7 separate regions of the Homo sapiens genome follow, and regions 2, 3, 4, 5, 6 and 7 are each linked to region 1. Evidence: promoter capture Hi-C in 16 types of primary human blood cells and fetal thymus (Javierre and others, 2016). All regions are on one chromosome and are shown on one strand. The core of a region is centred on a gene start or on the middle of the fragment in contact, and the rest is flanking DNA. Distances in the headings are between cores, read along the strand shown.

Region 1 (3,531 bases), core at 657-3,156:
GGGGAGAAACATGGGGAGAGACATGTAAACTAAAATCCGATGGAGGTGTAGAGTAGTTGGCTTGGCAAATCTTAGGAAAAGGAGAAGCAAAGAAGAGGAGACAGCAGACTCACACGTGCAAAAATGGGAATGGAGAGAGCAGAGAGCGTGTGGGGTTTGCACAAAGAACAGTTCAGAACCTCACTGTCATGACAGTATGAAGGGAAAGCGGGCAGTACTCCACCACCCACCAATGTAGCCCTCAAAATCAGCTGAGTTGTTTGAACTTTACCCTAACGGCAATATGACATAATCAAAAGATTTTTAAGTGGAGGCGTGAAAAATCAGAAGTATTTTGGGGCTCACACTTGAGATTGGATTGGGGAAGATACGGCTAAAAGTAAGTGGGAGTAATGAGGGGGCTGTCCCAGTAATTGGGTTCAGATGACATTTGCTTGATTTTAGGGATGTACGAGATATTCGTGGATCTTGTGTTGAAGCACCTAATACACGATGTCCCTTCTGAAGACGGGTGCATTAAACTGGGGTGAAGCACAAAGGCCACTGAGCAGCCTGGCTTGACTCCTGGCTTTGCCAGTTTGCATTTGCACGTGTCCAAGCCCTTGAGAGGTGCTGTGAAAACATAGAGGTGGATGAGGGAAGTGCTTATACAGCACATACCGTATAAAAAGAGGGCTTCATACTTGCTAGTTGTTTTAATTTTTATTATTACTTTTCCTCGCTGCACATGGAAATGTCTTTACCTTTGTCTTATTATAAGGTACATACGAGGAGAGTTACAGAACATGGGTGTTAGAAGAGATTTGACATATCTGTTCATTTTCCTAATTTTAGTGATGAGAAAATAAAGGGAAAGAAAGCAATTTAGATTTTTGCCAGTATTACAATTCTTTGTTCACGGGCACACCACGCCAGCCTGAAACTGTTCATTGGTCTGGTTCTCTTACCACCTCGTATATGTAGGTTTATAGTTTGGTTACGAACACCACCTTGTCTTAACCATAGATAGTTCCTGTGTTTGCCGACAGCAGCGATTTCTTGTGTGGAAACCCCTAATTTGGGAAACAATCTGTTTTAAACACTTTGTAGCACATCACTCAAACCGCACAGTTTTCGATAATCTTAGAAACAAAAACTGGGGTTGAGGCGGACAGTTAAATTCTGCAGACACCACAAGCTTGGATTCGTTTCAGCAGTCGGTCCTAAGTGGTTTGAAGCCCCTTCCGGGATGCCTCTTCTTATACGAACAACGCAGCGGCGCCAGGCGCCAGGGTCCTCACTTCTGCCTCCTGGATTTCCTCCGCCTTTCTGCTTCACCGAGGGCCCTGTGATCCGATTCCATCGAATTAACCGCTGTTTACCGAGGGTCTGCTGCGCCTAAGGAAGGCACCGGGCGACGAGCAAGGCGGGGACGCAGTTTGGGGACGCAGGGGTCCGGGCCCCAGTCCAGAGACAGGAGGTCGGCGCTTCGACTTGGCACCCGCCGACGAATTCACTCCAAGGTTCCCACTGGCGGAGCTCCTGCTACCTCCCCCCTCCCCTAAATGCAGCTCCCGCTACCTTCCCGCGCCCAGGGGCTGCTGCCTGAGCCCAGCTCTGCTCACTGGAGGGCGGCGGTGGAGAGGGTGCTGGCCCAGCGTCGGCAGCTGGGCTCAGGACCAAGGTGGGCGCCCGCCGGTCCTGGTCCCCCCAGCCTCACGGTGCAGGACCCAGGGCGCGGCCACTCGAGTTCCCCGGACGCTCTCCTTCCTGATGCTCGCTGTCCCTGCCCTGGCGTCCCCAGCCCGGGGTCGCAGCCTGTCCTCCTCTCTCTCCCCCTCCGCCGCAGCCCGTCGCCTCCGGGCAGAGTTCATGTTCAGCTTGGGCTTTCGCTCGGGATTTAGGAAGAGGCCGGCGGGGCTGGAGGGTGCGGGCCGGCGCGGGAGGGCGCGGGAGGCGGGGAGCGGCGGCCTCTGATTGGCCGGGGCGGGGGAGTGAGCGGAGTTTCCCACAATGCCCCGGTGCGGTGCAGCCGCGGATGGATGCTGCGGGAAGGGGCTGCCATTTGCTGCCCCTGCCAGCGGCGCGCGGACCTGCCCGCGCTCCTGCAGCCGCCGCCGCCGCCGCCGCCAGCCCGCCCGGCCCCTGCAGCGGCGCCGCCTGCGCTCCCTCCGCGGCCGCCGGAGCGGGCGCCATGAACCCCAGCTCCTCGGCGGGAGAGGAGAAAGGGGCGACGGGCGGCAGCAGCAGCAGCGGAAGCGGCGCCGGGAGCTGCTGCCTGGGCGCCGAGGGCGGCGCGGACCCGCGGGGCGCAGGGTCAGCCGCGGCGGCGGGGGCCGCTGCCCTGGACGAGCCCGCGGCCGCCGGCCAGAAGGAGAAGGACGAAGCGCTGGAGGAGAAGCTGAGGAACTTAACTTTCCGGAAGCAGGTCTCGTACAGGTAGGTGCGGGGAGCCGGCAGCCGAGACAGGTGCGCCGCGGCGGGAGACCCACTCTTCTACCCAGCAAGGGGCGCTTCCGCGGAGTTGGGCACCTCTCTGTTTCCACGCCTCTCCTTCCCCCTTTCCCCCTCTCCTCCCGGGGATGTCTGTCTTCTCCCCATCCTATCATTCCAGGCTGGAGGGCAGCAACGCCTGCTTTCCCCTGTGGCAGGAGAGAAGCACTGGGTCCCTAAGGTCAGAGCAACAGAAATTTTGTCTGTGTGTGTGTGTGTGTGTGTGTGTGTGTGTGTGTGTGTGTGAGAGAGAGAGAGAGAGAGAGAGAGAGAAAGAGAGAGAGAGAAAGGGTTGCAGACTCAGTGATGCTTAGTTTTCTTAAGAGAAGTCGTCAAAGTTGCCCCTAAGCAGGTGTCATCTTCAACCACCCTTCCCCCACCTTCCAGATTTCGCTGGATGAACCTTTGGCACTAACTTGACAGCTGAGATCACTCCGACAGGCAGAAAAGAATAGCACTACACTGAAGAGAAATCCTTATGGAAGTTGGACCTGCCTCGAAATCCCCCATGAAGGAAGAGTGGGTTTATGTCTGTAGATGCGCCACTGGTTATGGGGGCTCCATGCCTGCGTGCTCCTTGCCTCTCTCCTGGCTGGAGGAGGGTGTGGGGAGCCCGCTGGCAAGCTAGGGGTGAAGGTGAGAGTGGGGACCATATTTGCACCTAAGGATGAGTGTATGTGTAAGACAAGGACAGTGTGGGATCAATGGCCTTTAAATTAGGATAAAAGATAACCCCACATTGTATTAGAATCCAACAACGAGGAATTAGGATTTATTAAGGTCTCTCTCACCCCTCCCTTCCGCAGGCAAGAATAAAGACATTGACAGGTTTGGAGAGTTGTTGACACTAACCCTACTGCTTATCGATGTTAAAGGTCGAGGTGATATGCAAGCATAGGTTTACAAAGATGTACACTTGCTGGAGCTCAGAGGGTTTCTGGAAAAGGGGTCAGTGAAAACATTCTTGTAACCCTACTCTTTCTGAGTTAGTGTTCCCTTCCCAAAAACCATATAAAGTATTAAGCCTGTCACACCATGTGCTGTTATGTAAGCAAACGC
Region 2 (3,531 bases), core at 614-3,113, 230 kb after region 1:
TTTATAAAGAGTTGGAATTAAACCGCATATTTCATTTTTACTCCACGAGCAACTGTGGAATTGGCAGCTCTGTGAAACCTTGATGCTAAAGGGAGTGAGGGCTGCTTGGGTAATTTGCTAGGTTTCATCACCTCATTATTTAGAGAGATGAAGAAGTTATTTTGTAGAAATAAAAAGGTAATGGAAGATAGATGATTTTAAATAACTCAAATGAAAACCCCAAATTTAAGAATCAAGCCTGGATCTGTTGATATATTTGAAGTCCAAGTTATATTTAAAGTTACAAATGTCAGTGTTTCTCTTTCGGACTGAAAATATTACTAGACAATATTTTGATTGGACAGGCAAGTTAAAGATGGTCAAATACCAGTGCATATACTTGGAGCTGAGGGATTGAGACTTACGTGAATTTTCTGTGGGGTCAAGTTGTAGAAGACCACAGTTGGGAAAGCTTTTACAAAACTTATGTATCATGAGATGACATCATTTGAAAAAATATTTTGTACTTGGTCCCCTAAATTTTCCAAACTGTCACTTTTTTGTAACTTTCTCATGAATCTCACTGGGCTGCTCCTATCTTCTAAAAAGAATATAAAATGGATCCTCCATTCTCTTTCCTTAATACAGCCTGTTGTGACTTCATAGTACTGAGTGGGAACAAGCTGGTTTCTTTGAAAGAATGATAGTGCTCAATCTTTTATTGTTTCGTTTGTAGTAACATGAGTAATATATAAATATGCTCCCTGTAAAAATTAAACATCTCAGATAAGAGAGTCTCCTTTCACCAGCATTTAAAATGATAAGCATCTCCGCTGTCTCTTCCTATGATATATGCAGAGTTTTTACTGTGCGTTTACATGCATGGAAATGCACCCACAGAAGAAATACAGAACCACTTCGAGTGTAAGGGTGTGTGTTTTTAATAAATAATTCTTCACATAATGCTTTAAAACTTGCCTTTCTTAGTAAAAAAAGATTCTTGGGGAAAAGTCTGTTATTATATGTAGACTTAACTCATTTTTTAAATTGCTGTATGTATCCCATGCTGTGGATATATCCTAGTTTATTGATCCATCTGCCTACTGGTGGATATTTATATTGTTTCTAATGTTCTACTTATAAACAATGCTGCATTCATTTCTTCATAGCCCTGTATGAGCTTTCTTCATAATAGTCCCCCTTTTTTTGGTTTATCTCTTCTGGTTAGATAATCTTCTTAAAATACTGGGAACCCATGAAATGTAATAGCTAATTTTGTGCAACGACCAATAATATCCTGTAAATTAGCCTCAAAATTGCCTGAACCATTTCCTTTGGTGAATTCTAAAGCTTCATTAGTACTTGTGATTTAGTCAAATAGGCCTGGTTGGAGCTGTTGGGACCCTGTCTGTAACTTTTGGAATAAGTTTTCTTTATCCTTCTGCCTTCCCATCCTCAGAGCAGCCTTTGTTCCCTGGCACAATGGGAGCCCAGCAGAGTAAGAATGCGCTTTAATAGACTAAGTCCATTACTCTCTCTCCTACTGTCTACCAGAGTTTTGTCCAGTATATGATGGGGGGGAGACTTTATTTGGGATGACAAAGAAGAGCGAACAGATCTCTTCTCTTGGGATCTGTTATTATAACCAGTCATTTGTGATCTTATAACCTGGAAAAATCCCTGAAGATTAATAAGAGGTAGTTAAGTTTCAGTCACAGTTGAGTGATTTACCCGTAACTATTTCTTAATAGCCCAGCAAGGAGTCATAAGCATGATCAGGATTTTATTGATAGGATTATTTCTGTGGCAAGGTACAATTATCCTGGTATGAAGTACAGGAAAACAAAAAGCCTTTTTATTTAGGTCTTTAACAAAAGAGCAGGCACAGAATGTCTAGGGGGCGACTGCTGTTGGAATCAGAAGAATGCAAAAATCCAAGTGAGGGTACATACAGCATTTCACTGTGTTTTTAGTGTTGATCTTGCAAAGCGAATGCTTTTATCACCGAGTTAGCTGCCCTTGATATAATAGAGATGATTTGTTTTGGAACATAGCACAAGTGTTACAGGTTTCTTGCATATATCACCAACAAATTCTACACAGTAACTTCTTGACATAATTTTAACATTCTCGAAAAGCGTGCTCTTTTGTTTAACTCTCTCAACAACACTGACCCAGGCAGGATAAGCGATCCTGTAGATTATCAAGAGTAGGTGATTTATTTCATCATGGTCAAAACATATACAAAATCTGCCTTCAAACCCATCTGTTCCTAGAGGTAGAGATAGATACATATTTATACAAAATAGAGATATGTATTTATACAAAAATAGAAGGGAGCCATGGGATTTTGAGGTATGCTGTGAAATTCCTACTATTTATCTTTTGTGTTTGACTATCCGTAGGGCTGTAAGCTTACTCAGAGCTCACATAGATGCGTCCAGGTACTGTAAGTCAACGACTGTGCTTGGTCTCTGCCCTGTTCTTGTTCTGTGAAGTGAAGAAGGCCTCAGATGCATTTGGTTTGGTGAGGCTAGAAGCACTTGTATTTGCTACCTCTGTGTTACAAAAAAAAAAAAAAAAAAAAAGCCCGTTTTGTGTGTCTGTTCCCTATAAGAATTGAGTTCTTTGCCTGCTCTGTTTTCAGACATCAAGCCTTACTTTAATGTGTTTTTCTAACTCTGTGCTCCCCATACGTGCTTGATCATCAAAATCACCTGAAATACTGTGAGTTCTACGATCAGACAAGTTTAGGAAACAATCTTAGCCTGATGCGTTAGATCTGTCTCATGGAGTTTAATTGCTGACATCCTGTCAAGGACCTAGGTCCATAGCATGTTCCTGCAAGCACTTGGTGTCTGGCATTGCTCTTGGCAGTAAATGAATTAAAACTACAAAAAAGTTAGGAGGCAAGCATTCACTTCCCAAGGATCCTTTCCCAAATCAGGAGAGGCTCAGTAAATGCTGTGAATTATAGGAATATTTGTTCATTATTTCAACAATGATTCGAGTGTACACTATGTGCCAGGAATTTGTGCTCGGTGTTGGGGACACACAGCTGAGAATGAGGCATTATTTAGAATGAGCTAACATTTACTGAAGTGCTCATGGTGGGATGAATACCCAGCTAACTGCTTCATGTACCTTTGCTGGTTATAACTTCATAACTGTCCCATGAGGTGGGTAGTGTCACCATCATTTTAAAATTAAGAAACTGTTATTTCAGAAGTTTGACTGACTTGGCCAAGGTCACTGATCTCACAACAGGGAGATTCAGAGTCCATACCAGACGTATATTCCTGTCTCTGTTCATCTTCTGCTTAACACAATCTATGTGTCTCCTCACTTTCCTCTTTCTACTGCCATCACTCTGTGATAGAGTTGCCTGGTAAACTTTTAAAAAGTATCCTTGCCTGGGCTTTACCCCAAACAGATGAAAGAATAGTTGATGGGGCCCGGGCACGAGCATTTTTCAAAACTCTCTGGGTGATGCCAATGTGTAGAGATGGTTGAGAAGCATTTAGAGCATTGTTAATTGACACCAAATACATA
Region 3 (3,531 bases), core at 463-2,962, 210 kb after region 1:
ATGCATTGATTCCAGTCAAGATGAGTTGCTGCCCCTTCTAAAGCGGAGGGGCTTCAGTGTAATCAGTTTGCCTCAAAGTAGCTGGTTGTTCTCTCTGAGGGATGATGCAATATTGGATTCTCAGCTTTGGTGTCTTTTGCTGGCAGGTTAGAAATTCAGCAGTGGCAGGAGCCAGCTCAGTTTTGGTGACTGGCCACCCATGCTATTGGACCCACATATAGCATCCATCACTCCACCAAGGGTACTGCACTTACAAGCCCATTGCACCATCCATCAATGGGATGGCTCATGACACAGTATGGTACCTGCGTTGTGTCTAAGATTTTAGTTCTTACAAAGGGAAAGCTCTCTGGTAGGAATTAATGTGCAATAATCTTCACTCTTTGTACTTACTTTCATATGTCCTTCCTTATACCTCTTCCCTAGACCTCCTGTTTCCCTCCAGGGCCCTGGCCAACCAGCCTTGCCATTTATCACTGCCTGTGCATCATTATATATTCTATGTCAAGCCACCTATCTTTTCACATAAATGGGATGACAATTTGCTTCACCTGAAGTTATGCCCATGAGGAGGATTTCTTATTATTCCTGTCTCTAGGACCCACTCCTGAGTAGGCTTCAGTGCAGCAGTAGTTTACTTTTGGCCTGGACGTATATACCAAGTTGATCCATGCATGAACCAATCTCAGCATTTTCCTCCTCTTTGAGCTCGTCATTCAGTACTCCCATTTTTCCAGAGGTGAGTTGAATGAGAGACCTGGTACTGTAATAATAGTGGATAATGTGGGTGATCTGAGCCACCTACTCATGCATCCCTGGTACTGCTTGTTCCAGATCTCAGATGGTCCCACTTACTATAACAATGGATTAAGGCTGGGCTCACTCAACCTTATGATGTAGTGATCTGACAGAACTCAGCTCATGACACCTGATGATTCATGGACAGGTATTTCTCCACCAGAGTACAGTAACCTGCCAGAAAATATTTTTGAAAGGTGTATAGTTCCCTCTTGCAGATAGCACAACCTTGTTTCAGAATCCTAGAGTCTGTGTTGATTTTCCTATTGGTGCTTGTTATAAGCATCACAGGGCATCTTTTCTCCTTCTCTAAATTTCTAATCACATGGAGTGACAGGGATTCTTTCATTGCAGGCTGGACCTGCTGCAGCACTGTTTCATGCTCTGGGCCCCATTCTAAGCTGGCAGCATTTAATGTCATCCAATAAATGGATCACATTCCTAAATGTAGAATGTGCTGCCTCCAGAACCCAGAAAGGCCAAATAAAGTGCTGTGTTTCATTCTTAGTGGTTTAAATTATGAAATGCAATAATTTTTTCTTTAGATTGGAGAGGATATTCTAGCATACCTTGGACTACTGACCCCTAGAAGCTTCATTGACATGGGGGACCCCTGACTCTTCATAGGGCTTATGTCCCACCTTTCTTCTCACCAGGACCTCTGATGTACCTTCCACTTCTTGCTCATCTGCTTTAATGTGATGCTGCTGATATGGTGGACCAAATGATGTTCTACAGAATGTTCACACAGTTCGGGTTCCTTTGCATTAGATCTGGATAACATTCAGAAGAGTTGAAAGCCCTGGTACATGCCTGTAAAAATGTACTGTTAACCCTGAAAGCACTTGCAAATAGTTTTGAATTCTCCTTTCAGAGAGGGATGGAAAAAATTCATTTGCCAAATGTCATGTACTTAAGGCTGAAATATTCTAAATTTGGCACAGTGGCTGCAAATAGAGTGTACTGGGTTAAATTTGTGATATTCAGGCACCATTCTCCAGTCTTTGGTTTTATGGGATCTCAGCTGGTGAATTAAATGGGGATATGTTGGAGTACACCACCTCTGCCTCCTGCTTCCTTTAGTCTTTAAGGGTGGCACTTAGATAATTTTGGAAATGTAAACACAATACCATCGTCAGAGCTTTCAAAATTAAGATAAATTTAATGCCTATTACTTCTTAAGAATGTGACATTGATTTTGATTTAGTTATGGCTAGAAGGATGGTTTGAAGCTTTCACTTGGGCTTCCTCTTACACAACAGACCAAGAAACCAGTCTTGGGGTTGTGCCAGTTTCCAAGTCTGTTCACTCCACTTACACAATTGAGGACAAAGGAAATTAATACTGATGGATTTGTGGAACCAGTAGACTCTCTGAAAACCAGCCCTGGTCTAGGACTCCTGCTTTTTTTTTTTTTTTTTTTTTGAGAACGAGTTTCGCTCTTGTTGCCCAGGCTGGAGTGCAATGGCGCAATCTCAGCTCACCACAACCTCCGCCTCCTGGGTTCAAGCAATTCTCCTGCCTCAGTGGCCCAAGTAGCTGGGATTATGGGCATGCGTCACCACGCCCGAGTAATTTTGTATTTTTAGTAGCGACAGGGTTTCTCCATGTTGGTCAGTCTGGTCTTGAACACCCGGCCTCAGGTGATCTGCCCACCTCGGCCTCCCAAAGTGCTGGGATTACAGGCATGAGCCACTGCCCCTGGTTAGACTCCTGCTTTTTTTTTGTTTAACTGGGCCTCACGTTTGTTTGTTTGTTTGTTTGTTTGTTTATTTATTTGAGACAGAGTCTTGTTTTGTCACCCAGGCTGGAGTTCAGTGGCATGATCTCGGCTCACTACAGCCTCTGCTCCCTGGGTTCAAGCAATTCTCCTGCCTCAGCCTCCTGAGTAGCTGGGACTACAGGCGTGTGCCACCACGCCCAGCTAATTTTTTTGTATTTTTAGTGGAGACGGGGTTTCACCATGTTGGCCAGGATGGTCTCGATCTCCTGACCTCGTGATCTGCCCGCCTTGGCCTCCCAAAATGCTGGGATTACAGGTGTGAGCCACCATGCCCGGCCTGTATCTTTATTTTAATAGGGGACCATTAGATACCTGGTGCTGCTTCATACCCAGGGTATACATGTCAACTTGTACAGTTGTCCATTAGTCTTTAGAATATTTGGACATTTCTCTCTCTCCTCAGCATACAACTACCCAAGTTAATGGATGTAGGTCCTTTTAGTTAAAGACCAGAAAAGTGTTACCATAGACTCTTGCTGTGTTATTGTAAGATTCTTCTCCTGGGGACTTACCCTCTCCTTCAATCAATGGATTCTGTCTTTGAAAACTAGCTTAGGTCGAGAAACAGAGCAAAAGATTATGACTTTTTATTGCAACATCTGCCCTCATCTCTCTTGATCATCCATTCTTGATGTCTTCTGATTCTATTAATTGAGGAATGTCTCTTTTATCCGATAATCCATCTTTCTTGTAGGGATGTCATGCTATGTTAACCATTTCCATAGCTCTCTAGGTCAAGTCCCCTTGCAACTTCAATCTTACAGTAAGTGCACCCACTTTGTTTTGATGGTTTAGTGCTATTATTTTAGAATTCTATATTCCAGTTACTGTCAGAGTGCCCAATCTGTAAGGTGTTTCCTAGCATCAGGTCTAACCTACGAGGGAGAGCCACCTCTGAACTTCCCAACAATGTTGGTGCTCTTCTCACCAGCACATTTCTTATTGCTTTG
Region 4 (3,531 bases), core at 403-2,902, 190 kb after region 1:
GACTGTCAGAGAGGCCGAATTGTGTAATGCTTATAAGCATGAGCTCTGAAGCCAGACCACTTGGCCCTGCTGTGCCTTAATTCACTGACCTTGGGCAGTTTTCTCATCAGTGAAATGGAATTAAGAATAGGGCCTGTTTCATAGGGTTGTGAGGGTTAAGTGAACTACCATTTGTGAAGTGCTTATAAGAACAGATAGCAAATACTATATTCCTATTAGCAGCGTTTCCTGCTTTTGTTGCTATTCTTATTATTGTTTCCTGGGCGTAAAAGCTGAACTTGCCTTCCTTTACTTCTGGAAGATTTGGGCAGAAACCGAAGTAACTTAGTCTAGACTCATGCCTGGGATAGAAGCCTAAAATGACTGGCCCCTGGAAATCTAGACTCTTTGGCAATAGGGAAAGAATGCCTGTTTTCAACTTAGATCTGAGTTTGGATGTTGGTCTTGCCCCTTAGCTACTTGAGTGATAATGTAGAAAATATTTTAAAATGGAAGAGAATAATGCCTATATTGTAAGGTTCTGAAACTTAGAAATGACAGAACAAAGAGCCAGTTCTTGTTATATGCTCAAAATATTGGAGCTATTATTATTATTATTTGAAGAGACAATCTAGCCCACCCTAAATCATGCAGATGTGGAGCTACTTGGTGAGTGCAGAGACTGTTGATAAAGTTTGTCAGTTTATTCAATATTTAAGATGAAGTTTTAAATTTGCTTTGTAATAGAAATAATTACAATGTTTGCTGTATTTATGTATTTATTATATATGCCCACTTTAATACTAGGGAACTCTTCAGAACAGACTGTTAACATTTCTTTTTTGTCTTTTGAATTGAATATTGTAGAAATCAGCTCTCAGGAGGAAGTGTGCAGTCTGTAAAATCGTCGTCCACACCGCCTGCATTGAGCAGCTAGAAAAGGTAAGAGCGCGCCCCCTGCTGCAGTTTTGTTACATTGCAAGTATTTGGTCTTCAGAGGCCCGGTGTAAATTTCCAGTTCCAACTTTTTGAAAACAATGCCCTTAAAAAAAAGCTGGAAGTCCAACATTATTACCAGATTACTAATGGAAAGACAATGTTTAAGGGTCGTTCACTCTCTTGTTTGCTGAAGTGTAATTTGATATCATTTTACGTTGACTCTTGGGAAAAGGAAGAACACAGTTAGATGGAAAAGCCTGGTGTGCACTGATTCTCTTATTATATCATCTCAGTTCAAGCATTACTATCCACCCATAGGCTGTTCCACAAGCTGTTTAAGAAGGAAGAAGTTCTATAAGCTGTTTATAATTGTTGTTCACATATATCTGACTTGTGTGGTTTACGTCTTCCTAAAGTGCCTGCAAGGGAGCGAGCCACGCTGGAAGCCGGCTCTCACTCTGCTGGGGCAGTGCTCCTCCTGTTGCTGCTCAAATGTGTGGGTGGGGCTGGAAGTGACATCCCGGTGGTGGTGTGCCTCCAGAATCAGTGGATTCGGCAAAGTCCATTTATTTGTCATTTAGGGGATGGGAAAGGCTCCAATAGTGAGTTGCCTGCCATCCTCTTTCCTTTCACACTTCCCACTACATTTTAATGTGTGTGTTTCTCTGTGTATTATCTATGTTCTTGAGCTGTCATGGGTAAATGCATTGAAATATTTTAGTCCCCCATGACATTCATGTAGTTTCACTGACATGACCAGTTGATCCTAGCTGATATCTTGTGGCAATGACTACCAACATGTTATCTTAATATTTTCTTTTCTGCCCCAACTTCACTTACTCATCTCTGCCTTCATTCTTTTGCTCCTTTCACTTTATCGAGTAGCTAACCGAAATGTCAATGTGCCTACTAGGAGACCTCCACATCTAAAAGAAAAGCAGTGCTGAATCCTTTTATAAAGAATAACTCTGGGCTGGGTGTGGTGGCTCATGCCTGTAATCCCAGCACTTTGGGAGGCCAAGATGGGTGGATCACGAGGTCAGGAGATGGAGACCATCCTGGCTAACACGGTGAAACCCCGTCTCTACTAAAAATACAAAAAATTAGCCAGATGTGGTGGCACGCACCTGTAGTCCCAGCTACTCGGGAGGCTGAGGCAGGAGAATTGCTTGAATCCAGGAGGCGGAGGTTGCAGTGAGCTGAGATCACACCACTGCACTCCAGACTGGGTGACAGAATGAGACTCCATCTCAAAAAAAAAAAAAAAGAATAACTCTGTTGTCTTTGAATAATTGTCATAATACTAAAAAAACTCAAGTTTATATTTTCTACTTTTACAATCAGAAACCCAGCTGGGTAGTTTAAGCTGCCAGTATCTTTCCTCTGGCTCTTTCTTATCTCAGTTTCTCAAATTTATGGTGTAAGAGCATTATCGTTTAAAGATACTTAGATTTGATTTGTGAGAATGAAGGAAAGGGGTTGGAGATATAGAATCACCTGGGATCTCTGTTGATTATCTAATGTGATGATTTCAAAAGACTAAGAAGAGTATTATTCCTTGTTCTTTGGAGGTTTTGCTTTTCAGTCTCAATATCTGTCACTGTTTTTTTTTTTTTCAGGTAATTCAGTCTAGTCTGATGCTTATCTCTAATATAATATACTTTTCTTTTTGAATGACAGATTAATTTCAGATGTAAACCAACATTTCGAGAAGGAGGCTCAAGGTCACCAAGAGAAGTGAGTATTTCAGAGCTTGATTTCAAGTATCACCTTTGATTTCTCATTGATTCAGTGGATTCATAGATATTCACCAGGGAATAAAAAATAAATTCTATCTCTTTCTGTTGCATGCCAATTTTTTGTTAACACATCAATAAGCACAATCAATAAAATCTTCAAGTCTTTTCAACATGTGCACACTGGACTTTATTCTCATAAAATGTACTGGGGAGTTTAAGGTCTTACCAAATGAACCAGAGACTAGAGGAAGGTGGTAGTGATAGAATTGAAGGGGTAAGAAAGAAATAGACTTTTATTACTTATTTATTTGGAGACAGAGTGTCGCTCTGTTGCCATGTGTTCTGGTTGATTTTAAGTGCATTTTTCAATTTTGAGTGGGTATAAGCCATTCATGGGGCAGCACAGTAACTGGTTATTCCTATGAGCCCTGGAGTCAGACGGTCTGCTTTCAAAACCAGCCTTGATGTGTGTGATCTTGGGCGTCTCACCTAAGCTCTCTAAATCTCAGTGTTTTCATTTGTTAAGTAAAAAATAAATACATCATAAGCTAGAACTATATTCAGTTCTCAGTCCCTGACCCTCCAGTCTGGTCGTGAAGATAAACAGGTAAAGAGGAAGTTAGAATGAAGAGTTGTTACTGATGTGTTAGTGGGAAGCAGAGGTATGACAAGAGGAGACAGCACTTATTTGTTCACATTTTATTTAGCAGAGACAGCAAGCACAGTTCAGGCAAGAACCCTCCTGTGTTATTCTGGACAGTTAAGCTCCAGGCCCAAAATTGCACTCCCTAATCAGTGAAACAAAAGCCTGCAATGAACAGAACCTGTCCTCCTAGAATGTAGTTCAGCCTGCCCAGCAGTCACTCACTGCCTC
Region 5 (3,531 bases), core at 760-3,259, 170 kb after region 1:
TGCATGGAATTGGATTGAATTAACGAAATCCATGAGAAGCTCAGCTGTTTGGACTAAAATGCTGTAAATAATGAATTAACATTAGTGTCTTGGTTAATTGCGTAAACACTGGTCCTGGGATGTAAGATAATAAAAAATGGAAAAAATGAAAGCCAGTATTACTTACATATATACTTTTGAACAATTTCTACTGATGGACTATGATTTTATACAGAGTCATCCCTTATTTCCAAATTGCTCCCTTTAATCCCTTTCTGTTACTTTTTAGGGGATGGCTACCTCTCTTGACAAATATATGAACAGATACGTATATCCTCTTTAAACCTTGTATCAGTAAATAGCATTGCTATCCACTGAATGATTATTACTTGTTCACTAATACCTTTAGGCCAGGAAAAGCAACAAGGAGAATAAAGGAAATTTTAGGTAGAAGTAGGAAGAAACAGAGTTGAGAACGTTCCCAGTTTCCTTCTGAAGCTTCCTCATAATTTCATACCAGGTACTTGGCCCTATTAACTCATATTACAAAACGTCTGAAAGATGAAGAACTCTCCTCCAAAAAAATGTTGGTTAAATGAAGGAATAAATCAGTGAGGAAGCTGAAGACCTAACTGCTGTAAGTTTCTTGAAGCTCAGTTTCTTTACCTATAAAGTGGGGGAAACACTGTTTTGAGGGTTTGGTGAGATGATACATAGAAAGGGCTTACTTGGCTCAGCAACTGACCTAATGAATTAAAGGCAAAAAAAGAAAAAAAAGAAAAAACCCAGGAAGGACAAGGACAGGAAATTTACAAAAGAACTACCAATTGCCAATAGATATCTGAAGAATACAAAGGCATCCCAATTAAAACAACTCAGGAGTCAACTTCATGTGCCTATTAAATTAGCAAAGATTTATAAAATGGTAATAGTTGCTGCTGGTTGGTTTAGGCTGAAATGGGCAGGCTCATCATCAGCTGCCAGGAGTGTAAGTAGATACACTGTCCTTCACAAAATTGGCAGTGTGTACTGAAAGCACTGAAAATCCTCTCAGTCTCTCTCCCCACCTCGCACTGTGAGGCGCATGTCATCTCTGGGCATCCCATTTTGAGAGAGACATTGGCAAGCAGCAGAGGACCCAGAGTGGGGTGCCCAAGTTGGTTTAGGGGATGGAAGCTTGTTGTAAAGAAATGTTAGGTTACATGGGCTACAGCTGAGTATTAGGAGCGAAGGCAGAGAGATGTCTTCCAGTATTTGAAGAGTTAATTTGAAGAAAAGAGAAGTGACTTGCTATCTGTTGTTAGAAATGGAAAAGTCATAGAGGTAGAATCCACTGACTCTAACTTTATAACAATAAACAAACATTACCTGGGAAACCTAACAATGCACACTCCTGTTTCCCTCTTTGCTCCAAATGCTGATTCAGTATGCTTGGAGTTGGACTTGAGAGTCTCCGATTTTTTTTTTTTTTTTTTTTTTTTGGATGTAGTCTTGCTCGGCTGCCCAGGCTGGAGTGCAGTGGTGTGATCTCGGCTCACTGCAACCTCCGCCTCCCGGGTTCAAGAAATTCTCCTGCCTCAGCCTCCTGAGTAGCTGGGGTTACAGGTGCAAGTCACCACACCCAGCTGATTTTTGTATTTTTAGTAGAGACGGGGTTTCACCAGGTTGACCAGGCTGGTCTCAAACTCCTGACCTCAGGGGATCCACCCGCCTCGGCCTCCCAAATTGCTGGGATTACAGGCATGAGCTACCACACCTGGCTGGGAGTCTGTGATTTTAACGAGCACCTCAAATAATTCTGATGCAGATGGGTCGCAAACCTAACTTTGAGAAATACCGTATGATAAGAAAGAACTTTGTCAGCCTGAGCTTCCCAGCAAGCGAACAAGGTGCCTGGAGAGATTGACTGGTGGGATGTGTGTTTGTGGATAACGTGGGTGGCCATGTTTCAAGGATGCTGTAGTTGGGGACTCTCAGCTGCTTTGGGCAAGAGGTCACAGAGATCTCCAGGCGAGTCTTTAGTTTAAATGCTCTGTTTGCAGTTTTCTTAGAACAACAGTCTTTTTTGGGAAAAAAGTATGCATAAGCAGATCATGTATTTATATTCTAATTTCTTTTAATGAACCACCTTTGAAGAAAGCCTACCTGTTGGGGCTGGGACTAAATTACCATAACCAGGTACTACCTGCAGGCTCCTAAACAAAGTACAGGCAGAGTGCTCAGGGGAGGAGTGAATCCATCATCTACGATGTGCCTTTCACTCCTTCCCTATTTTAGCAAAGCAAATGTCACAAGTAGAAGTTAAGAGAAGGAAGAAGTCAGTGTGGGTTGAAGCAGACAGAGGCAGCTTCATGGAAATGGGGTTCGAGCTCAGTTTTGAAAGATGGGTAAGATTTACATAAGTGATTTTGAAGAAGGAGAACATTTCGGGCAGGGAAGAGGAACATGAGCAGACTCAGAGGTGGGGCAAGCTCTGTACAAACGAGGTGGCAATCATGAGCCGTGCATGAGCATGTGTCAGAGAAAAATGGAAGTAAGAATGGAGTTAGGTTTTTTGAAACAAAACTTGGAGTGCATATTGTAAATACTGGTGGGCTTAGGAAGCATGACTATAGAATACATTGTCTAAACCAAGACACTTTTGAGGGTGAAAGTGGCTGCTGTTAATAATGATGCCGTAACATTAGGGATAAACCAGAACTGCATCACCCTAGCTTATGGGACATTAGGGCATCTATGTAAAACTAAAACTGTCCTGCAAAGCCGGGACCTCCTGCTGCCATGTGGATTGATATTTGGGGACTGATATTGGAGGGTACTGAAAGCCAGGCAATGACTTCCAAAACCCTAGAACAGCTGTAGGAGAGTTTGTTCCCAAGCTTCAGGGCTAAAACTAAACCACGTGACCTTTTCCTGTTCTACAGCTCTCTGGTGGCAACATTTAATACTGTAGAATACCTGTGAGCAGATACGTAATGGAATTAAATTTGTTCCCAAATTGGCAACAGTTCCCAAATTAGCAACTGTTTCTTTTTCTGGTCTAGATAAAATATAAAAGGATGCAAAAGTAATGAAATTGAAGTAGAAAGATCACTGTTTCCCAACCTGATTATGGGCACTGGAAACCTGAAATAAAATTCCAGCCAGAATCACTGTCGTTTGGTGACATTTATTTTTATGTACATTTATTCATTTATTCATTCATTTATTCTGTCAGTGTTTGTGAGCTGGGTTGAGTACCCAGTGCCTCACCGTTTAGCGGGCACAGCCAGATAGAAACTGTTCTCATGCTCTGGGGCTAGGCTATACAAACATGTTTAGCCAAATATTTGTACCTAAAGGAGCTCACCCCTCCAGTAGTAATCCCTGGAGTCCATACCATCGTGCACCTACTCAGACTTGAAAGAAACTTGCCTACATTGATATGCAAATTATACACCCACCGTGGTCACACAGACCTGAATAGGCACAGATGGGTAGCATGGGTGGTCAGAAGGAAATAGACTTTGTGTGGACTGACCTGGGTTTGAAAACCTGCTGTTCCATTTATGT
Region 6 (3,531 bases), core at 283-2,782, 150 kb after region 1:
GAGTTTCTTAGGAAACAAAACACAACCTTTGGTTCAATAGTAATTACATCTTTCAACATTTCAATGTACATTAAAATAATCAAAAAGTACTTTGAGTTCATATATAATATGAAGTAGGATTTAGGCTCAAATAATTACGCACAGTTTGTTCCCTGACATAAATCAGAGGTGAAGTTTGTGCGGGGCTTGGGACAATTTTTTTATTGCGTGGACTATCCTTTACATTGTAGGCAGCTTGTCTAAGTCAGCCAAAAAGCACTGTGAGCTGCTTTGAAGACAAGCAAAGTTAGTGCCCATATGGTATAAGAAAAAAGACAACAACACACTAGGTGATTAAGAACTCTCTTGGGGAATCAAACCAAGACACTGAGTAACTTCTTAGACAGCTGGTTCCTTTTCTAGAACAACAGGATGAGTTCACCAGTCTCTAATGTGTCAATCTTTAGGAGGTGTTCTGGGTAAGAGACTTCCTGATTCTCTGGTGCTTTTCTGCTCTGCAAGAAGAATCCTGATTCTGTTCTCACGTGCAGCATCACCCAGAGAGGGAGCTGGCAAGATGAGGATAGATAGAAAACGGGAGCCACATAAACCTACAATCAGACTGAAACTGGAACCAGAGGAAATTGAGAGAAATTTGCAAAGTGGGTAATTAGAAAAGGGTATCTCTGGCTTATTTGCATGTTTTCCATAAATTTTTTTTTTTTTTTTTTGAGACGGAGTCTCGCTGTCGCCCAGGCTGGAGTGCAGTGGCACGATCTCCGCTCACTGCAGGCTCCGCCCCCTGGGGTTCATGCCATTCTCTTTCCTCAGCCTCCTAAGTAGCTGGGACTACAGGCGCCCGCCACCTCGCCCGGCTAATTTTTTGTATTTTTAGTAGAGATGGGGTTTCACCGTGTTAGCCAGGATGGTCTCAATCTCCTGACCTTGTGATCTGCCCGCCTCGGCCTCCCAAAGTGCTGGGATTACAGGCGTGAGCCACCGTGCCCGGCCTTCCATAAATTTTTAAATTTCTATTTATGAAGAGTATATGCCACATGTTTCATTAAACACATTGTAAAAATATTAACACTATCATATGCCCTTTACGAATGTGGCAAAGGGATTCCATTTTAATGTTGACCACACAAAGCCGTTTTGATGTTTCTTAGGCTTCTTAACACTGGATTCTACCTTATTTGCATTTATTTTTAAAGAGCTGCTATGAAGGATTTCTGACTCTCTCAGGCAAGAATATCACTGAAATGTAAGGCATGGGATATAATTCAAATCATCCTAATCAGATTTCTCAACCCTTGATCTAATCAGCAAGCTGTTTTTCTTAGCTTCTTGGTCAAGTTCATTCATTAACTCAGAAAGCATTTCTTGAATATAGACTGTGTCTACCCCAGGGCTGGAATGTAATTAAGATTAGTAGATGGATTGAGCCCTGTCCTTTAGGAGTTTATAGTCTTATTGAATGAAGTGAAGAAAATAATATGATGCTACTTAAAATGTATAATGGCTTTTATATTTTAAATATATTAGAGGTCTTTCAGGTAATTGATATTAACTGTGATGTTGTATTATTGAAACTGCATTATAGGATATTTTCTTTTCATATCTATTTCACAGTTAATATCACAGTTCTTTTCAAAGAAGCATTTGTGATTATAGCCATCTCCTATGAAGCGTTGTTGTGAAATTAATAGAAAGAATCATTGGCATTTCATGGTTTTGCTGACCGTGGGCTTGAGAGGATTCTGAGCAGAAGGAAAGAACAAGTTGAAACCCCATTGATTTTTTTTTAATAGGAGCAAATTGCAGCATAAAACTACTGCCCCCTCATCCCACTCCCAACCACACACCAAGTTCTACTAGACTCTTAAATTCGTCATCTACCAGCAAGATAAATTCAAATAGAAAAATAACTTTCGCTAACTTATATTTGAGGTCTGAGATATAATAAAACTATTTTCTTATTTTGGAAGAAAATGTGTATGCATGTATGAATTATTGGAGAAAAGGATTTTCTCCCATGGTTATTTAAAAGAATGGAAAGTTCTAATCAGAAGTTATTTCGTACACCCTGTTGTACCTAAATATATTTTTTCTATTTGTATGTCCTTTTGTGAGGGCAATTAGAGTTACAAACTGGCAGCCACTTTCATGTTTTTTACTTATTTTTTTCTCCTAATTAATGTTTATGTGTGTAGACATAAAACCAACCTTAAATTTGTATCCACAAAGAGAAATAAGTGATCAACAAAAAGGCCTTACTTGTTTCTATTCCCAGGCTAGAAAAGAGTGTGATTTGACTGTAATTTCTTTCAGGGTTAAATGTTTGTATGTCTCTTTATCATATAGCCACATTATCTTTCATAGACACACGTGGCTTGCATCCTTGAATCCTAATTTGATTATTTCAGCAATTGGCTCCTCCTGGCAGTCCTAATTAGGAAGAGTAACCGGGTTTTGGCGGTCAGAGTCTACAAGTTCTGATGAGTTAAACTCATTTGCCCTGTGGTTTCTACTGGTGCCTGACAGTAGCGTTTTGTTTCCTCTCTTAAAAAAATTTTTTTGTATCAAAACTGTCTGGGACAGTTAATGAAAAAATGAAAGATCTGTGTTTTTCTCATTAAACCAAGATTTAGAAATTCTTCAGCCATTCTAAGAGTTTGCACTTGGGTGTGGTTTGGTATTTTTTGTAAGGACACTTAATTTAGGTTGTGGTGACTGTTAAGGAATCAAATGTAGAACCTGTGTATTCTGACTCTTCAGAGATCTGATTTTCTTATGAGGAAAACTGTAGCTCAGAGTCCCCATACAGAGCCCTTCAAAGCCAGAGAAAATCCTAATAAAAATGCTAAAGAAGTTCCTTCAACATAGGTGGAGGAAAACTGTTTTGAGATGAAAGATCACTGTATAAGATTCTTCCACTGTTACTTTCTTATTGCTCGATGATATGGAATATGCTTTGGGGTGAGGGGCCAAAATTGATGTTGCTAATTATTTGCCTTGGTGAAAGTGAGGAACGAGAATATTGTGTCATCATTAAAGGCCTCCATCTTCATAATGACCCTTTCGGGGATTATATAAAGCAAGTAAATTGTCTGTTACCCAGTGGGAGCTTTTGAAAGTAGGCTACCAGCAAGCTCGATGTGATCGCTTCTAACTACTGAAGACCTACCCCCTATATCTGGGACTTCCTGTATAGGAATACAAGAGGCTTAAAAAAAAAAAAAAAAAAAAAAACCCAAAGGTCTAGACACTTGCTGAGCTCTCTGACATACTTGGTAATTGATTAATGGTTGCACAATCCTGGATTCTTACTGGCTTCTACTCAGTGTTTCCTCAGGCTTGGGGGCTACTGTTCATCTTGCTCAACTTTACAAATTATTTTTTGGAGGGAGTTTGCAGAGGTCGCTGAGCAGGATGAAAAGATTACCTGCCCTTCAGGGTTCAAGAAAGCTTTTAAATTCTGTTCCTATTCCTTCCCGTTTATATGGGGCAAGTTTCTTTTCCTTTGGGGACTCATTTGTGATGGGAGTCACC
Region 7 (3,531 bases), core at 593-3,092, 130 kb after region 1:
ATGTAAATTGTTTTAGGGAAGACAGAATTGTTTAAAGTATGTATTTAAAAGCAGATATGTGTTAGATGTTTTTAAACATTTTTTTTAACCTTGAAAGGAAAAGAAAATAATGTTAAAATTTTAGATCTATAAAGGATATGAATTTATGCCCAATATTGTTTTAATTCAATTAGGATAATTATTTTAAAACTGGAAAAAGGAATCAATATTGATAATAGCAAATAATCCAAAATCAGAAAGAATCTATTAAAAAAACTACTTTCTTTGAAGAGTGAAGTTTTCTACATTCAAATAAATTATACCACAGATAGTAAGAGATCCTATAAATTTGGTCATAGGACTATGGGTCAATAATGTCTGAGAAATAGTAGAAATGGGAGAGTTTCTGAAAAATTGGTGGTAAGAAAATATCCCCATTCAAAATTGGGCAAGTGGCCAGGCACAGTGGCTCATGCCTTATAATCTCAGTGCTTTGGGAGGCTGAGGTGGGAGGATAAGTTGAGGCCAGGAGTTTGAGACCAACCTGGGCAACATAGTGAGATCCCATATCTACAAATAAATAGATAAGTCAGAGATGGTGATGTATGCCTGTAGTCCTAGCTACTTGAGGCACCGAGGTGGGAGCATTGCTTGAGCCTAGGAATTTGAGGCTGCAGTGAGCTATGATTGCACCACTGCACTCCAGCTTGAGTGACAAAAAGAGACCCTGTCTCTAAAATAAAAATTAAAAAAAATTGGGTAGGTTAACTTACAGCTTAATAAGTTAATGGCAACCTCTACAAAATTATCCTAACAGTAATTAAACAGATGTTTTATGTAGAATTAGAAAAGAAAATAGTGGTCATAAAGAGCTAGCATGAGTTCCTTAAAAATAAATGTGTATTATGTGTCTCATTTCATTTATTGGATGGGGTTATTATAGTGATAGCTTTGGAAAATTCCATAGACAACTTGTGTCTAAATTTCAGCAATGTATCTGATAATATTTTGTGATTTCCCTGTGGTTAAGGTAGAAACATATAGATAGGCTAAAATTAGGCCAAATCACAAATGTTACATCCCACCCTACTCCACCCTATGTGAATATTATAAATTAATTCCAAGCTGGAGCCAGGTATCTATTTGAGCAGGGGTCCTGCAGTTGGTTCTGTGCTGGTTGCTATGTTTATCAATGACAGGTGAATCATACATGAATGCTTATCAACTTATCAACTTGCTCTTATTCTCCTCTGGGAAAGACAGCTGAGACACATGGTGATAGAAATCAGATTTAGATATCCATAGACTGGAACGATGGTCCCATATCAACTAATATAAAGATTATAAGTTTAGAAACTGTGGCAATTAGCCTTTCACCACTTGTGCTCTAGGGTGTTTTGTCTAGATCTTTGTTACTTAGAAATTCCAAGCTGAAGCTGGCTGACCATTTTTCAGGATTCTTCGCAGAACAAGTTGCTAAGTGGCGAGGAAGCTTGAATTTGATTATTTGCTAACCCTGAAAGTCTATTATTCTTTGGAATTACTTGGAGAAACTGTTTTATGAAACATATCATCATCTCAATTGTCTATCATACAGCTAACTCACCTATCTCATCCATCAAACTTAGTTTCAAATAACTTGTTGCTGTTGGAATAAAATGAAATCTATCCTCAAAATATGACGACTATTAACATTCAGAATCTTCCAAAGAGTGCCTGCAGGTTCAGGAGGCATTTCCAAAAGAGGAATCTTCAATGCTTTAAACAAGATACTGGAATCTCAGTTAAATACCATTTGCTATTGGGAGAGATGTAGTGTGTATTTTCTAGGGTGACAGCTTTGGACAGCAGCAATTTGACTGTGTAAAGGCTTACATATCTTTCTATTCCTAATTTTATAATGCTTAAAATATTTTTATTATTGCACATTCTTGAGATCATTACTAGAATTTGTTGTTAATATGGCACACTTTCAATTTTGATTAGAACACAAAACATGAAATGTTCTAAATGTATAATTAGAATAAATCTGATGCTTGGTTAAAATATTTTTATTGAGAAGAGAATATATAGTAGGATACAACAAAATATTTGGAAATTATAAAGGGTAATAACCCAACAAATATCTGAGTATTCCCTACCCATTTTAATAACAAAGGGTACCATCGTAATAACCTCTGAAGTCTGTTGCTTATTTTCCTTAATCTATTCCTGAGCATCCCCAATAAGCTTAAATTTTTCACTTATTGTTCCCTTGCTTTTTATTAACATTTAACCAAATATTTGTATCTTTACTAATGATAGCAGCATAAAACTTTCATATAGTGATTTCTATGTGCCAAGCACTTAAATGCCATACATTCATTTAACTCAAAAGCAATCCTCAGAAGCAGGTATCCCCAGCCAGGCATGGTGGCTCACGCCTGTAATCCCCAGCACTTTGGGAGGCAGAGGTGGGCGGATCACGAGATCAAGAGATTGAGACCATCCTGGCCAACGTGGTGAAACCCCGTCTCTACTAAAAATACAAAAACTAGCTGGGTGTGTTGGTGGGCGCCTGTAATCCCAGCTACTCGGGAGGCTGAGGCAGGAGAATCGCTTAAACCCAGGAGGCGTAGGTTGCAGTGAGCCGAGATTGCACCACTGCACTCCAGCCAGGTGACAGAGCGAGACTCCGTCTTAAAAAAAAAAAAAAAAAAAAAAAAAAAAGTTGGTATCCCCATTTTACGGATGAGGAAATCAAGATATATAGAGATTAACCCGAATTCCAGTTCAGGCAGTCTGACTGCAAATTCTGTGCTCTTCCCCTCTGTTCCATGCCCCCTGTCAAGAATACATAGTATAGCTCTATTTGCATTTAAAATGTTATGTAAATGAAATACTACTGTGTGCAATCTGCAATTAACACTTTTAGTCACCACTGTGTTCTTGAGTTTCATATGTTTTGTTCTATGCAACTGTAGTTCATTTATTTTCATTTGTAAAGAGTATTATTTCATTGTATGACTATATTGCAATGTATTTATCTGTTCTGCTTTCATCTGACATTTGAGTTGCCTTTATATTTTTCTGTAATAAATAGTGCTGATATGATATTTTAACTATCATCTTGTGTGTATATACCAGAGATTATCTAGGGTGCATATCCTGGAGTATAATTCCTGTGTTTATGTGCACCTTCAATATTCCTATAGAACAGCAAGCTGTTTTCCATAGTGATGAACCATGTTGTCCTCCTTGTGACAGTATGTAAGCTCTATATCTTGCCAAGAGGTAATATTGTCACACTTTAAAATTTTTGTCAGTCTGTTTAGTTTAAAGTGGTAGAGGAATGATGAGGAGGAAAGAAGAAAAGGGGGAGGAGGAGGACGGGGATGAATTTCCAGTTATCTGATGGATCTGAACATGTTTTTCTTTTTTTACTGTTAATATTTGGTTTCTCCTTTTGTAAACTACCTGTTCAAATCTTTGGTTCACTTTTTGGGGGAGGATGTTTATCTTTTTCTTATTAGTATCTATTAGTTGTAGAAAACATCTTTTATTTTGTGGCTA

Evidence for each region. The method cuts DNA at HindIII sites, captures the fragments that hold promoters and counts their contacts. A CHiCAGO score of 5 or more calls a contact.
Region 2: a contact is called between a fragment that was not itself captured here and the fragment with the promoter of DGKI in region 1, in 1 of 17 cell types (M1 macrophages). The highest score is 5.4, in M1 macrophages.
Region 3: a contact is called between a fragment that was not itself captured here and the fragment with the promoter of DGKI in region 1, in 3 of 17 cell types (M0 macrophages, M2 macrophages and M1 macrophages). The highest score is 8.1, in M0 macrophages.
Region 4: a fragment that was not itself captured here is called in contact with the fragment with the promoter of DGKI in region 1 in 5 of 17 cell types (M1 macrophages, M2 macrophages, M0 macrophages and 2 more); the score reaches 13.9 in M1 macrophages.
Region 5: a contact is called between a fragment that was not itself captured here and the fragment with the promoter of DGKI in region 1, in 2 of 17 cell types (M0 macrophages and M1 macrophages). The highest score is 7.6, in M0 macrophages.
Region 6: a contact is called between a fragment that was not itself captured here and the fragment with the promoter of DGKI in region 1, in 3 of 17 cell types (M2 macrophages, M0 macrophages and M1 macrophages). The highest score is 6.2, in M2 macrophages.
Region 7: a contact is called between a fragment that was not itself captured here and the fragment with the promoter of DGKI in region 1, in 3 of 17 cell types (M0 macrophages, M1 macrophages and M2 macrophages). The highest score is 5.5, in M0 macrophages.

What each region holds. Positions count from the first base shown.
Region 1 is chr7:137,845,349-137,848,879 of GRCh38, reverse strand. It overlaps DGKI (diacylglycerol kinase iota), which reads left to right and starts at 1,906. Exons shown (of 33, transcript NM_001321708.2): 1 at 1,906-2,418. The coding sequence starts at 2,018. RefSeq lists silencers at 1,103-1,397, 1,882-1,931 and an enhancer at 2,566-3,067. The HindIII fragment of the contact is 3,155 bases long and covers 1,180-3,531 here.
Region 2 is chr7:137,611,258-137,614,788 of GRCh38, reverse strand. The region is part of intron 8 of DGKI (diacylglycerol kinase iota); the gene reads left to right. Among named protein-coding and RNA genes, the nearest start is that of DGKI, 230 kb to the left of the region's middle. The HindIII fragment of the contact is 1,064 bases long and covers 1,332-2,395 here.
Region 3 is chr7:137,631,905-137,635,435 of GRCh38, reverse strand. The region is part of intron 6 of DGKI (diacylglycerol kinase iota); the gene reads left to right. Among named protein-coding and RNA genes, the nearest start is that of DGKI, 210 kb to the left of the region's middle. The HindIII fragment of the contact is 640 bases long and covers 1,393-2,032 here.
Region 4 is chr7:137,653,856-137,657,386 of GRCh38, reverse strand. DGKI (diacylglycerol kinase iota) reads left to right here. Exons shown (of 33, transcript NM_001321708.2): 4 at 847-921; 5 at 2,599-2,655. Among named protein-coding and RNA genes, the nearest start is that of DGKI, 190 kb to the left of the region's middle. The HindIII fragment of the contact is 7,371 bases long and covers 1-3,531 here.
Region 5 is chr7:137,673,613-137,677,143 of GRCh38, reverse strand. The region is part of intron 3 of DGKI (diacylglycerol kinase iota); the gene reads left to right. Among named protein-coding and RNA genes, the nearest start is that of DGKI, 170 kb to the left of the region's middle. The HindIII fragment of the contact is 1,703 bases long and covers 1,158-2,860 here.
Region 6 is chr7:137,691,499-137,695,029 of GRCh38, reverse strand. All of the region lies in intron 1 of DGKI (diacylglycerol kinase iota), which reads left to right. Among named protein-coding and RNA genes, the nearest start is that of DGKI, 150 kb to the left of the region's middle. The HindIII fragment of the contact is 3,834 bases long and covers 1-3,449 here.
Region 7 is chr7:137,710,842-137,714,372 of GRCh38, reverse strand. All of the region lies in intron 1 of DGKI (diacylglycerol kinase iota), which reads left to right. Among named protein-coding and RNA genes, the nearest start is that of DGKI, 130 kb to the left of the region's middle. The HindIII fragment of the contact is 737 bases long and covers 1,474-2,210 here.